Regions from separate parts of the Homo sapiens genome. Here region 2 is linked to region 1. Evidence: promoter capture Hi-C in human tissues and cell types (Jung and others, 2019). All regions are on one chromosome and are shown on one strand. The core of a region is centred on a gene start or on the middle of the fragment in contact, and the rest is flanking DNA. Distances in the headings are between cores, read along the strand shown. Region 1 holds the start of SPRYD3 (SPRY domain containing 3). Region 2 overlaps PCBP2 (poly(rC) binding protein 2).

What was found. The method cuts DNA at HindIII sites, captures the fragments that hold promoters and counts their contacts. A contact is called where the count stands out against the background at its distance.
Region 2: a contact is called between a fragment that was not itself captured here and the fragment with the promoter of SPRYD3 in region 1, in 1 of the 25 tissues and cell types used here (dorsolateral prefrontal cortex).

Annotation. Positions count from the first base shown.
Region 1 is chr12:53,077,167-53,084,012 of GRCh38, reverse strand. It overlaps SPRYD3 (SPRY domain containing 3), which reads left to right and starts at 4,623. Exons shown (of 11, transcript NM_032840.3): 1 at 4,623-4,702; 2 at 6,752-6,846. The coding sequence starts at 4,680. RefSeq lists a silencer at 4,643-4,922. The HindIII fragment of the contact is 7,407 bases long and covers 617-6,846 here.
Region 2 is chr12:53,471,983-53,478,989 of GRCh38, reverse strand. All of the region lies in intron 14 of PCBP2 (poly(rC) binding protein 2), which reads right to left. Among named protein-coding and RNA genes, the nearest start is that of PCBP2-OT1, 11 kb to the right of the region's middle. The HindIII fragment of the contact is 4,559 bases long and covers 735-5,293 here.

The DNA.
Region 1 (6,846 bases), core at 3,374-5,873:
TCCGCCTCCCAGGTTCAAGCGATTCTCCTGTCTCAGCCTCCCTAATAGCTGGGATCACAGGTGTGTGCCATCACACCTGGCTAATTTTTTATATTTTAGTAGAGACAGGGTTTCACCATGTTGGTCAGGCTGGTCTCAAACCTGAGCTCAAGCAATCCACCCACCTCTGCCTCCCAAAGTGCTAGGATTACAGGCGTGAGCCACCATGCCCAGCCCGTTTTTTTTTTTTTTTAGAGGGAATTTCACTCTTGTTGCCCAGGCTGGAGTGCAATGGTGCAATCTCGGCTCACCGCAACCTCAGCCCCCTTGGTTCAAGCGATTCTCCTGCCTCAGCCTCCCGAGTAGCTGGGATTACAGGCATGCGCCACCACGCCTGGATAATTTTGTATTTTTAGTAGAGATGGGGTTTCTCCATATTGGTCAGGTTGGTGTCGAACTCCCGACCTTGACCTCAGGTGATCTGCCCACCTCGGCCTCCCAAAGTACTGGGATTACAGTTGTGAGCCACTGCACCCGGCAGAACTTTTTTTTTTTTTTGAGGTAGGGTCTCACTCTGTTGTCCAGGCTGGAGTGCAGTGGCAGCACAACCATGGCTCACTGCAACCTCTGCCTCCTGGGCTCAAGTGATCCTGCCATCTTAGCCTCCCAAGAAGCTAGGATTACAAGTGTGTGCCAACAGACTGGCTAATTTTTAAATTTTCTGTAGAGACCAGGTCTCACTGTATTGCCAGGGCTGGTGTTGAACCCCTGGGTTTGAGCAATTCTCCCTGCCTTGGCCTCCCAAAGCACTGGAATTACAGGTGTGAGCCACCATGCCCAGCCTGAACAACTCCGTTAAAAACATGAGAAGACAAGCTGCAGACTAGAAGAAAATATTTGTAAAGCACATATCTGATAAAGAATTTGAATCTAGAATATATAAAGACTTTCAAAATGCAATAAGAAACAATTTTTTGAAATGAGCAAGTGATTTAATCAGATACTTCACCAGAGAAGATATATGGATGACAAATAAGCATATGAAAAGATGCTCAACCTCGTTAGTCATTAGGGAAATGGAAATCAAAAGTGAAATGAGATACCACTTCACACTAAGTGGCTATAATCAAAAAGAGATAATAACAAGTGTTGTTGAGTATGTAGACAAATTGGAACCCTCATACACTGTGATACCTACCTATTAGGAAGGCTGAAAGTAAAAAGAATAACCATACCAAGTGATGGCAAGGATGTGGAACAACTAGAACACTCACACACTGCTGATAGGAATGTAAAATGATACAACTACTTCTGAAAACAGTGTGATGCTTTTTAACCAATTAAGAACCGTACATCTACCATGTGACTGAGCCATTCACTCCTAGATATTTACTTAAGAGAAAATGACACTTTGGGAGGCCAAGGTGGGCAGATCACGTGAGGTCAGGAGTTCTGGACCAGCCTGGCCAATACGGTGAAACCCCATCTCTACTAAAAATACAAAAAAAAAAAAATTAGCCAGGCGTGGTGGCACATGCCTGTAGTCCCAGCTACTTGAGAGGCTGAGGCACAAGAATCACTTGAACCTGGATGGTGGAGGTTGCAGTGAGCCAAGATCATGCCACTGCCCTCTAGCCTGGGTGACAGGGTGAGACTCCATCTCAATAAAAAGAAAAAGAAGATGAAATATGTCCATACAAAGACTTGTACATGAATATTCATCATAGCTTTATTTGTAATAGCCAAAAACTGAAAAAATCCAAATGTCCATCAACAAGTGAATAAATAAATTGTAATATATTCCAACAATAGCATACTATTCAGCAATAAAAAGGAACAATCGAGAGGCCAAGGTGGGAGGATCACTTGAGGCCAGGAGTTTGAAGTTGCAATAAGCCTTGATCACGCCATTGCTCTCCAGCCTGGGCAACAGAGCAAGACCCTGCCCCAAATAAATAAATAAATAAAAACTATTAACACAAACAACAATATGGATGAATCTCTCAAGGTAATTACGCTGAACAAAAGAAGCCAGACACATCCCTCCTCAAAGAGGATTTACTGTATGATTCCACTTACATAAAATTCTAGGAAATGCTAACTAAGATAGTGACAAAAAGGCAGATTAGTGGGCTGGGCGCGGTGGCTCATGCTTGTAATCCCAGCACTTTGGGAGGCTGAGGCAGGAGTTCAAGACCAGCCTGGCCAACATAGTGAAACTCCGTCTCTACTAAAAATACAAAAATTAGCCAGGCGTGGTGGCGGGCATCTATAATCCCAGCTACTTGGGAAACTGAGGCAGGAGAATCCCTTCAACCCGGGAGGTGGAGGTTGTAGTGAGCCAAGATTGCCCCATTGCTCTCCAGCCTGGGCGACAGAGTGAGACTCTGTCTCAAAAAAAAAAGTTTCAAAAAGCAGATTAGTGGTTCCTAGGGATGAAAGAGTGAGAGAGAGGGATTATAAAGGAGCATGAGGAAATTTTTAGGGATGATGATGATATGGTCACTATCTTGGGTGTGGTGACATTTTCATTTTCATAGGTATATAAGTAGCTTATCAAATTGTATACCTTGGCTAGGTGCAGTGGCTCATACCTGTAATCCTCGAACTTTGGGAGGCTGAGGTGGGAGGGTTGCTTGAGCTCAGGAGTTTGAGACTAGCCTGGGCAACACAGTGAGACTTCGTCTCTAATTAAAAAAAGAAAGGAATAAATTGTACACCTTAAATATATATGGTTTATTGTATGTCGGTTATATGGCAATAAAGTTGTTTATTCAAATACATGTAGACACCAAACACAAATTACCAACTGGGTCCTGAGCATGCCAATGGATGGAGAATTCGCCAAAAAGGTGAGCCCCACATCTGGAACTTAAAGGTGAGGAAATCCCGAGTGGAATCACCAACCATCAGTAACAGTTTGGAAATGCCTTCTTCTGCCATTTCTCTCCATGTCTGACCCTAGCCACCTAGCTAGTTAGTTTCTGGAATGAGCCCTGGTCTGGGATGAACATGACTCTGGCAGCCTCCTAAGATTGTCCCTCTCTGGCTGCCTTTGGGAAGAGCTGAGCTCAGTGTTGAGGTATTTTCATAACACAAGAAGAGGAGCGGAGGAGAAGCAATGAGGGAATCAAAAGGAGGTGGAGATGAGTTGGAAGGGTAGCTATTCAGAACTGAGTCATCCAGGGGCTGGAAGGGAGCTAAAAGAACACATACTTCAATAATTCTTGTTTAGGGATGAGAACACCAAGACCTTGACCTTTTAGTCACACAGAATTGGGGCTCTAATCCGGGTTTCTCTGTTTCCCATCTCATCTATTCCTATCACCCATTGCCGTTATGCCGAGTGGGCACTATTCACGGTATGCGAGCTGATGGCTTTCCTGGCACTCAACACGTTAGAGTACCTAGTGTGATAAGAATAGAATAGTCTGGGGTCTGAAGGAGCTCACAGTCTAGCAGAGACGGGTCTACACACACAAGTAACTCCAATAACGAAAGCAAGACGGTAATAAGTGTTATAAATGGCGGGGGGCGGTGGCTCACGCCTGTAATCCCAACACTTTGGGAGGCCGAGGTGGGCGGATCAAGAGGTCAGGAGATCGAGACCATCCTGGCTAACACGGTGAAACCCCGTCTCTACCAAAAATACAAAAAAAATTAGCTTGGCGTGGTGGCGGGCGCCTGTAGTCCCAGCTACTTGGGAGGCTGAGGCAGGAGAATGGCGTGAACCCAGGAGGCAGAGCTTGCAGTGAGCCGAGATCGCGCCACTGCACTCCAGCCTGGGCGACAGAGTGAGACTCCGTCTCAAAAAAAAAAGTATTATAAATGAGGTGCTACAGAGGAGAGGAATCTTTTCCGTCCAGAAGAGAGAGATATGGTGATGGGAAGGGAGCAAGGAAGTCCTCATCTAGGAGTCCAACCCCCCAGAATGGCAGGTAGGCACTCCCTAGTAGGTGTTCAATAAATATTCGTGTCTTCGTCCCTTCACATTCTAACCCCAGTCTAACTTTCCTTCAGCCTACCAAAGCCCTGTGTTCCTCCACAGAATGCCGCTTCGTGCCACTGTGCCTTCTGCATCCCCAGTTCTCTCCTCCTGGAATGGAATGTTCTTGCCAATAATGAGCGAGCGGTGCCATGAAACAGAGCTCGGGAGGGTACACAGCATAACAGTTAAGCGCGCAGGCTATCGAGGCCAGCCTTCGGCCCATCCGTAAAAAGGAGATAAGATTTATTTCATAAGGCTGCACCGTGGATTAAATGGACATTCCGGTAAAGCTTTTATTTCAGTCCAGCGCGGAAGGAGGGCTCAAGTAATACTCGCAACGTTTGTGCGAGCGTGGCCACCTTCTCCGCCCGTCCCGTCTCCCCGGCGCCGCTCAAGAGCCGCCCCCTGTCCGCCTCAGCGGCGCCCAGGCACCCAGCAGCGTCCGCGCTGCCACGTCGCCTTCGCTCACCCCAGCAACAGCCGGGTTGACCAGACCGGGGCCCTGAGCTGGGTACCCAGGGCACCGGGCCGCGCCCCACACCCTGCCTGCGCCTTCCGATTGGCTCCTGCAGGTGCCCGTCGTCAGAGGCCGTTGCTGATTGGCTTAGATGGGGGACGGGGCGGGCCTCTAGGAGTGAAGGAAAGGCGGGGACCCGGATGTGTGTGGTGGCGGCGGCCGAAGAGCTTGTGTGCGGAGCTGAGAGGCCTATGGATGAGGAGGACGCGGCGGCCCCGGTAGGCGGGGATCGGGGGCGGGGTCCCGGAGGCCTCGTATCTCCCCGGAGCCTGAAGCGGAAGGCGGGGGTCCTGGGCGGGGGCTCTGGGGCCAGGGGCGGGGCCCTGCGCTCTGGTCACTGGGCTTCTTCTGTTGCTGCACCCTCGGCCCAGTGCAGGGCCTGGGGAGACTGGGCGTAGGCACACGGATGGGCTGGGGCCCGGCTGCTCCCGGGTCTCATCTCAGTGATCAGGCCGTGCCCGGGGAGGAGACAGGGCCCAGTAGGGCCGCCACTCGCCGGTGCCAAGACTGTGGGGTCTGCGCAACCAGCATCTACCTGGGGTTGAGTCCTGGCTGAGTGCCCGGGAGTGGAATCTTAGGGCTGTCTGTCCCACAGGTGCCTACTCTTCTGGGCCACGTGGTGGGTTGTAGCTACTGCATAAGAGTCGTAATTTGCGTATTGGGATCAAATTCAGCCCAGCCAAGGCTTACTAAGCACCTACCGTGTGCAAGGCAATGTCAGGCCTCAAGAAAACCCCTGTCCCAGTGTTTAGGGAATGGGAAGAGAAGAGTACTTCACCTCTTTCTCACTTTTGGCTCCCAGGAAAAATCATTCATTCATTTATATGTAGGGACTGATGGTTGTTTAAATACCTGGATCATCCCACCCCCATCCATCGGCGCTGCTACCGACTTAGTGGATGTCATTTCTCATGTGAACTGCTGCAACAACGTCTGAATTGTTTGCCCACATCTGTTCTTGATCCTCTTGTGATCAGTTCTCCAACCAGCAGCTGGAATGATCTTTAGGAACTGATTAAGATCGTGGCTTTTTTTTTTTTTTTTGAGATGGAGTTTCTGTCACCCAGGCTGGAGTGCAGTGGGACGATCTCGGCTCACTGCAAACTCCACCTCCCAGGTTCAAGCAATTCTCTTGCCTCAGCCTCCTGAGTAGCTGGGATTACAGGTGCGCACCACCACGCCTGGCTAATTTGTTTGTATTTTTAGTAGAGATGGGGTTTCACCATGTTGGTCAGGCTGGTCTTCAACTTCTGACCTTGTGATCCTCCCACTTCGGCCTCCCAAAGTGCTGGGATCACAGACGTGAGCCACCAGGCCCAGGATCATGGCATTTTTTTTTCTTTTTTTTTTGAGACAGGGTCTTGCTCTGTCAGCCAGGCTGGAATGTAGTGGCACAATCAGAACTGACTGCAGCCTTGACCTGCCAGACTCAAGCCATCTTCAGTCTCCTTAGTAGCTGGGACTACAGGTGCATGCTGCCACACCTGGCTCATTGTTTTAATTTTTAGTAGAGATGAGGTCTCACTACGTTGCCCAGGCTGGTCTGGGTCCTGGCCTCAAGCGATCCTCCTGCCTCAGCCTCCCAAGGTGCTGGGATTGCAGGCATGAGCCATCATACCCAGCCAATCATGGCATTTCCTTGCTTACAACCCTCCAGAAATTTCCATCTTGGAATAAAATCCAGAGTCCTTACCATTTCATTGTCTGTAGGGCCATGATCTGACTCCTGCCTTATTCTCATCTTGTACATTCTCCCTCACATTCCCTATATACCAGCTGTCCATGCCTTTTTCTGTTTCTCTACCATGCCAGCTCTCTTCCATCCAAGGACCTGTGGCTGCCCTTCCTGCCTGGAATATGCCTGGCTTGTCATGCCTAGCTCCTTTTCAACTCAAATGTCACCTCCTCAGAGAGACCGCCTCTGTCCACTCTATCCACTGCCTCCAGATTCTTTATCATATCACCCTGTTCTTTTCTCCACTGCCTGAAATTATGTCTGTTTATTGCCTGTCGTGTCCACCTCCCAGCCTGTGAGAATGGGAATCCTGTCCATCTTGTTCACAGCTCCATCCCTAGCACGGAGAAAAGCACACAGAGTAGGTGCTTGGTAAATGTTTGTTGAATGGAAGAAAGAAGATGAGGGTTGTTGAGGTCAATCTGGGCAGCTGGCCTCAAGGCCAGTGCCTTCTCTACCTTCTGGGTCACAGAGGCTGAGGTGCTTTACCTAGGGCCCTGCTTTCTCCTCAATCCCCTTCTCCCCTTGGCAGGTTTGTTCTCATGAACAAGATGGATGACCTCAACCTGCACTACCGGTTTCTGAATTGGCGCCGGCGGATCCGGGAGATTCGAGAGGTCCGAGCTT
Region 2 (7,007 bases), core at 1,765-4,264, 400 kb before region 1:
AGAGTAGTCTCAAGGGTTTAATGCTGAGACAACTCAAGGCCTTTACTTTAAAGCCCTGGAGTTCTATCAATGTGTAGGGTATTATGAGGTAATACCGTTTTAAAGGTAAAAAAAAAAATGTTAAAAAGAGATGTAAAAAGAGTAACTATGGGTCAAGAATTATACTCAGATTTACTTATTTATTGAGACAGAGTCTAGCTCTGTCACCCAGGCTAGAGTACAGTGATGTGATCTTGCCTCACTGCAACTTGTGCCTCCCTGGCTCAAGCAATTCTCTTGCCTCAGCCTCCACCTGATAGCTGGGATTACTGGCAGCCACCACCACTCCCAGCTACTTTTTCTATTATTAGTAGAGACGGGGCTTCAACAGGTTTCCCAGGCAGGTCTTAAACTCCTGACCTCAGGTGATCTGCCTGCCTCTGCCTCCCAATGTGCTGGGATTACAGGCATGAGCCACCGCGCCTGGCCTTATTTATTTATTTATTTTTTTGAGACTGAGTTTCACCCAGGCTGGAGTGCAATGGCGCAATCTCAACTCACTGCAACCCCTGCCTCCCGTGTTCTAGCGATTCTCCTGCCTCAGCCTCCTGAGTAGCTGCAATTCCAGGCAGCTGTCACCATGCCCAGCTAATTTTTGTATTTTCAGTAGAGACAGAGTTTCACCATGTTGGCCAGGCTGGTCTCAAACTTCTGACCTCAGGTGATCCACTTGTCTTGGCCTCCCAAAGTGCTAGGATTAGGCATGAGCCACCACACCCGGCCTTAAAAAGTTCTTTAAAAAGTTTTCAGGACTTAAAAGTAGCAGACAAAATAATTTGTTTCAACTCTGTAGCTCACTCTACAAGCTCCTAGATCTTGTCAAGCCATATCCTCCATCTAAACATACCTGGCTACAATGCCTTTCTGTTTCAAAGAGATAGTCATTTGAGGTCCTGGAATCCAATTTAGGGCTTTCAGGGAAAAGTATTTAAGTACTCAGTATGCTTCACTGGTAGGTAGGTAGGCAGCAAGACTTTGCCCTCATTTTGAATAGAACCAAATGTATAAGACTTCATTTCAGTTCATAAGATAAGTTATTTCATAAGATTTTAAACTGATTAGCATAAAATATTTGTGATATGTGGTCATGAAAACATGATTGGTAATTCACCATCTGTATCCCTTCCACAACAATGCAAAGCCAAAAGCTGGGTAGAAAAGCAAGGGCCAAAAAACTGCAAAGTCCTTCGACTACAAACTATTTACTTTTAGTCAGAAATGGTTTCTCCACCTCAGTATTAAGGGAATATTTAGGGTTTTTTTTTTTTTTTTTTTTTTTTTTTTTGAGACAGAGTCTTGCTTTGTCACCCAGGCTGGAGTACAGTGGCGCGGTCTCGGCTCACTGCAAGCTCCGCCTCCCAGGTTCACGCCATTCTCCTGCCTCAGCCTCCCGAGTTGCTGGGACTACAGGCGCCCACCACCATGCCCAGCTAATTTTTTTATGTTTTTAGTAGAGTCGGGGTTTCACTGTGTTAGCCAGGATGGTCTTGATCTCCTGACCTCGTGATCCACCCGCCTCGGCCTCCCAAAGTGCTGGGATTACAGGCGTGAGCCACCGTGCCCGGCAGGGGATATTTAGTTCTTAAAAGGGGGGTAGATTCGTGCCAATTTCAAAACACAATGATCTAAGGAAAGGTAAACAATAGCCCTGGATTAAAGGGTTCAGTAAGAACTGAAGGTCTAAGAAAGGAACTGCTAGATACCATTAGATCTAGGACCTGAAAATTTAAGTTCATAAAAATTGGTGGTAGCACTCTGGCCCCACCAGAGCTCTGAAAGAAATGTTCTGAATGTGTATCAAGCCCGAATGGGGATTTGCTGGGGTGGGGGAGGTGACGCAGGGAGAAGGGGATGCTATGAAATACTGAGTCAGGTACTCTAGGATAAAAGACCACATGGGGGAGCTCTAGGGTTTAAAAAAATTTAAAACTGAGGCCCTTTGGAGGTAGTGATGGTAGCTAGACCCTTAAACATGTGGAATCCTTCCTTGGGGAATAGCCATTAGGTTAAGAGGCCTTCCAATCAAGAACTAGATAAAACCACATCCCTGGGGGGAGATGGTATCAGCATGATTAAGTCCTAACTACAGGAGGAGCAAGCTTACCAAGGGAGAGAGCTGGACCACATGATAAAGGAGCAACTAAATAAAACTCCTTACTGGACAGGTTTGGCCATCTAATCCTTTATGCATACTTGAGACGTGTAACACTTCTTCACAGGCCCAATCTGGGATGGAGGGGCCAAAATAACATCAAAGAATGAGATAATATATTGGAATACTAACAGCTTTTTTTTTTTTGTCAGCCAATGGTGATGCTGGGAAAAGGTCATCAGGGAAACTATCTCTACACTGAGTTCTCTAATGCCCTGGGAAGAGCATTACACTTTCAGCACTGTGGCAACGTGTACTCTCGTTGAATGGAAGGCTATCAGAGGCCTTATACCACCATACTAAGAACATTTCTACTGTTTTATGAGAGGCCTGTGCCCATCTTAGTATAAGAAAATGAACAAGATTTCAGGGAGGTTAGTACGATTGAGTAAAAGTAAAGCTTAAGTTGTTAGTCCTGGCTAGTCACTCATAACCTATGAATTTAAATTATCTTAGGGCCTCTATTTTTTAATCTGTAAAATGAGGGGATCAATGTGTTACAGATTAGTTGATCCTTAAGGTTCCTTCCAAATCTAAGCATGTCACTTCCTACTCCTGATAGTGCTGGTGGGGAGCAGAAAGGATACGGCCAGGAATAGAAAAAAGGGTAAAGAAACTTGGTTGACAGAGTTGGTTTAGGACTAGTGGATGGCATCATGTCAAGTTGTGGATAATGTCACGGGTTGGCTGAGATATACCTAATGTCACAGAAAGAGGCATAATGCTAATTCAGAGGAATGCAGACAGAAGCTGCCTAATTTTATTAGACTTATCCCACTTTGCCCCTCCCCTTCATTCTGGGTAAAGAAGTATGTTCTTTGAATGTATGACTTGGAAGAGATCCTCATGGTAACCATTCACCAGAGGAATCCTGGGATGAACACCTTGTTAGCTGCTGCTGGCAAGGTAAGGCCATCTGAGAAGTCAGATAAACTTCCTCACTAGTGAAGCTTGTTGCCAATTACAGAGGACCTTCAGGATCTAAACTGCCACAGACTCGTTATCTCTTTGTGGAAATATTGACAAACGACTATAAAATTCACTTGGGATTCAAAAAGCCCATGTCAGTTATACAGGCTTCCTAGCTGAATAGCCACAAGTCACAAGCCCCCAACCCTTTACCCTTCACAGCACACAGTGTACTAAGGTTCTTACTGCGCCAACTTTATTACAGCTAGAAACACAAATATGGCCAAGAAGGCCTGCTGATAGCTTAACCATTAAATAATTCTTAAAAAAAAAAAAAAAAGTTAACGAAGCAGCTTTTATTCATTAACACAGAGCCTAACACATTGTTATATTGCAAGGCAGAATAAAGCTACAAAGAAAAGTAACAAACAAGAAAGAAGAGAAAACTGTGGCTCTAGATAAAGAATTCAAGTCAGACCCTGAAACAGGCACTCAGCTGAAATGGCCTAAACCTAAACAAGGGTTACCACTCCCCCACCCCCACCCAGTTATCCCCCAAAGTAGTAAAAAGGAAACGGTAACAAGCTCACAATAGTTTCATTCTCACCAATGTTAACAAAGGAAAACAAAATGAACAAAATAATACTGGAGGAGGTGCCTCAAGGTATGCAATCAGTAGGGAGAGAATCTCTGTTTCTCGCCTTTCAGTTTGTTAGTTACACATGGCACGGCAGAGGTGGTGGTGGTGGTAGCTGAAGCCCCGGTACCCTTAGCAGCAGACACAACATTTAGAGCCAGGAGAGGGATGGGTTTCATGCCAAGCAGACTGGAGACACAAGGGGCGGTCGGAAGAGGGTTGGGGAGGCTGGAGGGTGCGTCGGAGGTCCCCGCTGTGGCGAGCGAGGGGGTGGTGGTGGAGGAGGAAGAAGAAGAAGGGGTGGAGGGTTGAGAGAGGTTGATGCTGAGGTGATCAGGGATCGTGACGGAGGCTGCCTGGGAGGAGGGTTTAGCGTTTTCTAAACTGTAACAGAGGAAAAAAGGAACAAAAAAAAAGGGTGGGTGGAAGGGAAGACCACAAAAGGGAGTAAGTACAGGACAAAAACTGCTTCAGTTATATCAGTAAGTGCCTCTGGTTGACAATTAGGAAGACCTAGTGTCAACTTGTGACAAGCTTTCTTTTAGCCTATGTCCCACCCTCTAAATATGTATATTTCCATTCCACAGAGCTACTTAAAAACTGCTATGGTGAAGAAAAAGCTGACAGAGAAAAGAAATCATAGGGCACATACTTCATGTATCTGACACACTGACCCAACCCAGATGTTGAAGGAATGATTTCGGGTAGAAAAAGATACTCATCAATCACCCAACAAGGAAGAAATGTTTCCTCTAATCAAATGTCAATTTCCTATTCTAACAGAAAATCAATTATCCCACAATTACTTGTGAAGCTTTGAATATTTATAAAGCAGAATTTTTAAAAATCCTTCCAGCTATGTATTAAAGTCTGCTTACATCTCCACAGCAAACAAACCAGTATCAGGGTGGAAAGAGACAAGAGTCCAAAGTAGGTCACTGACTAATTTCAAATTTCAAAGAATGTAGCGTTTTCAAAGAAAAATGCTGAGAACAGAAGTGTAGATAAGAACTAGGGAAGCTTTTCTGGTGGGAGGTGGTATAAAAAGTTGTTTCTGACTGATCATACTTCTAATGTGGACCTTTCAGAAGTGGAAAAGAGAAACTCAAGTATCACCTAAAAATTCATACTTAAGCGAAAATGCTGCTGCTTCCACTCCCAAAATAAGCTCCACAGAACAGTAAGGGTACATGTCTCCCAAATGCCTGTATGTGTCTAAGCCAGAACTACATATATTTGGGAAGTGTGCCTGGACAATTGAGCCCACAACGCTAAGTCTTCAAGAGCAGAAAGGCTCCTCTTAAAACCTCATTTTATTTACCTATGTCCAAGGACAGCTGCAATCCATAAAGGAAAGGGATACAGAAGTCAACTAACTATATAAAAGGACAGACTGCCACCATGAAAAATCAAGAGACAGGAGAAAATGCTCAGAATCCAGTAAAATCCTTCTTGACTTAAAAAAAATGAGAAAGGAAAAAAAAAAAAACCCTTTGACTTCTGCATTTAAACTGCACCAAGTTGAGAAAGAATAAGCTTTGTGCATGCATAATCTTTGCTTTGGTGTTAGATGAAGCTTTGAAAAGTTTTGACCCTAATCCATGGCTAAGATACCGAATTGCTATTCAGTAACAATGATCCTGAAAAGAGCCACTCTACCAAGAGAATTCTGCTTCCTTACAATGTAGCCACTGACCTATTGCAGGAGCTAGGCAAGCAGGTCACATTTAAACAGTCACAATTTAAATTACATGAAGGGCAAGCCTATCGAAAGAACAAAACAAATTCCAGCTTTCAAAAACCTGATTCTTGCCACTGAAAACTGAAAACTTCTTGCCCTCCAAAATCCTAATTACAAATAAGAAAAACAAGCTGGGCATAGTGGCTCACGCCTGTAATCCCAGCACTTTGGGAGGCCGAGGCAGGTGGATGACAAGGTCAAAAGATCGAGGCCATCCTTGCCAACATGGTGAAACCCCGTCTATACTAAAAATACAAAAATTAGCTGGACGTGGTGGCACGTGCCTGTAAGTCCCAGCTACTTGGGAGGCTGAGGCAGGAGAATCACTTGAGCCCAGGAGGCAGAGGTTGCAGTGAGCCGAGATGGAGCCACTGCACTCCAGCCTGGTGACAGAGCAAGACTCCGTCTCAAAAAAAAAAAAAAGAAAGAAAAACAATTCTTGTAATCCCAGCACTTTGGGAGGCATATCACTTGAGGTCAGGAGTTGGAGACGAGCCTGACCAACATGAAACCCTATCTCTAAAAAAGAAAAAGACCTCTTTGCAAACAACCTTGGTGCAAAAGTTTACTACTACCATTTCATTCTCAACATTAAGGACCTAGTGTGCTTGGTGGGTGGACAAGAAAACAAATCTAGGAAAGGGAAAGCTTTTCTACACAAAGAGTAGTAGCACCTCAAGATATGAAGTCTTAAGGCAAAAGTCAGACTGCTACTGGGGAAATGGTATGTTCTTAGCTAGCACTAAATAACCATAGCATATATACATGGTCAGTACAAGCACAATACAGACCACATACTTAGGAATTCCTTTCCCCTGTACTAGATTCAGGAACTCATGTAAAACTTTTATGACAAAGAGATTAAACACTTATAAGAAAGGTAAATGATAACTAGACAACATTCCCTATTAAAAGAGACCTAAGGGCCTCAAGGCTAACAATGCTTTGAAATATTAGTAAGCAATTAAGGGTGTGACTTCAGCCCATGAGTTGAGAAAGCAAGTAATATAAATGACTGTAGGATCCCATTTGACTGTGAACAGTGTCCTAAAATTGAGAGTAGTAACACTACCTAGCTATGGATAAGGGAAATAAAACCCTCAGGAAGTCATTAAGGGATGAGATTGGGGGAGGAGTGAGATAGAAAACACACTTCACACTTCCGAAACATTCCAATACCTGTGCTTCCCACATTCCCACAAGCTCTGAATAAAACACACATGCAGTGTGAGAAAAATGGGTGTTTCCAGAATAAATGGTAATTGCTGCCTCCCAGAAACTGCCTTGCTGTCCTATTACTCCAATGTCCTTATTACAATTAAGGGTGCTTTGGACTCCAAATCAAATCAGTGAAAGAAATAGTAGTCTATATGCTATGTAGAACAAGAGAGACCCACATTTGATTTTGTGAGTGCTCTAGCCAGAGGACTCTTACTGAAGACAAGGACCACTCTTCCCTCTTACCAAACCATCAAGTTAAATGCGGGCAATCTGTGCTCCCCCCCCCACCAACCCCTTGAAAACTTACT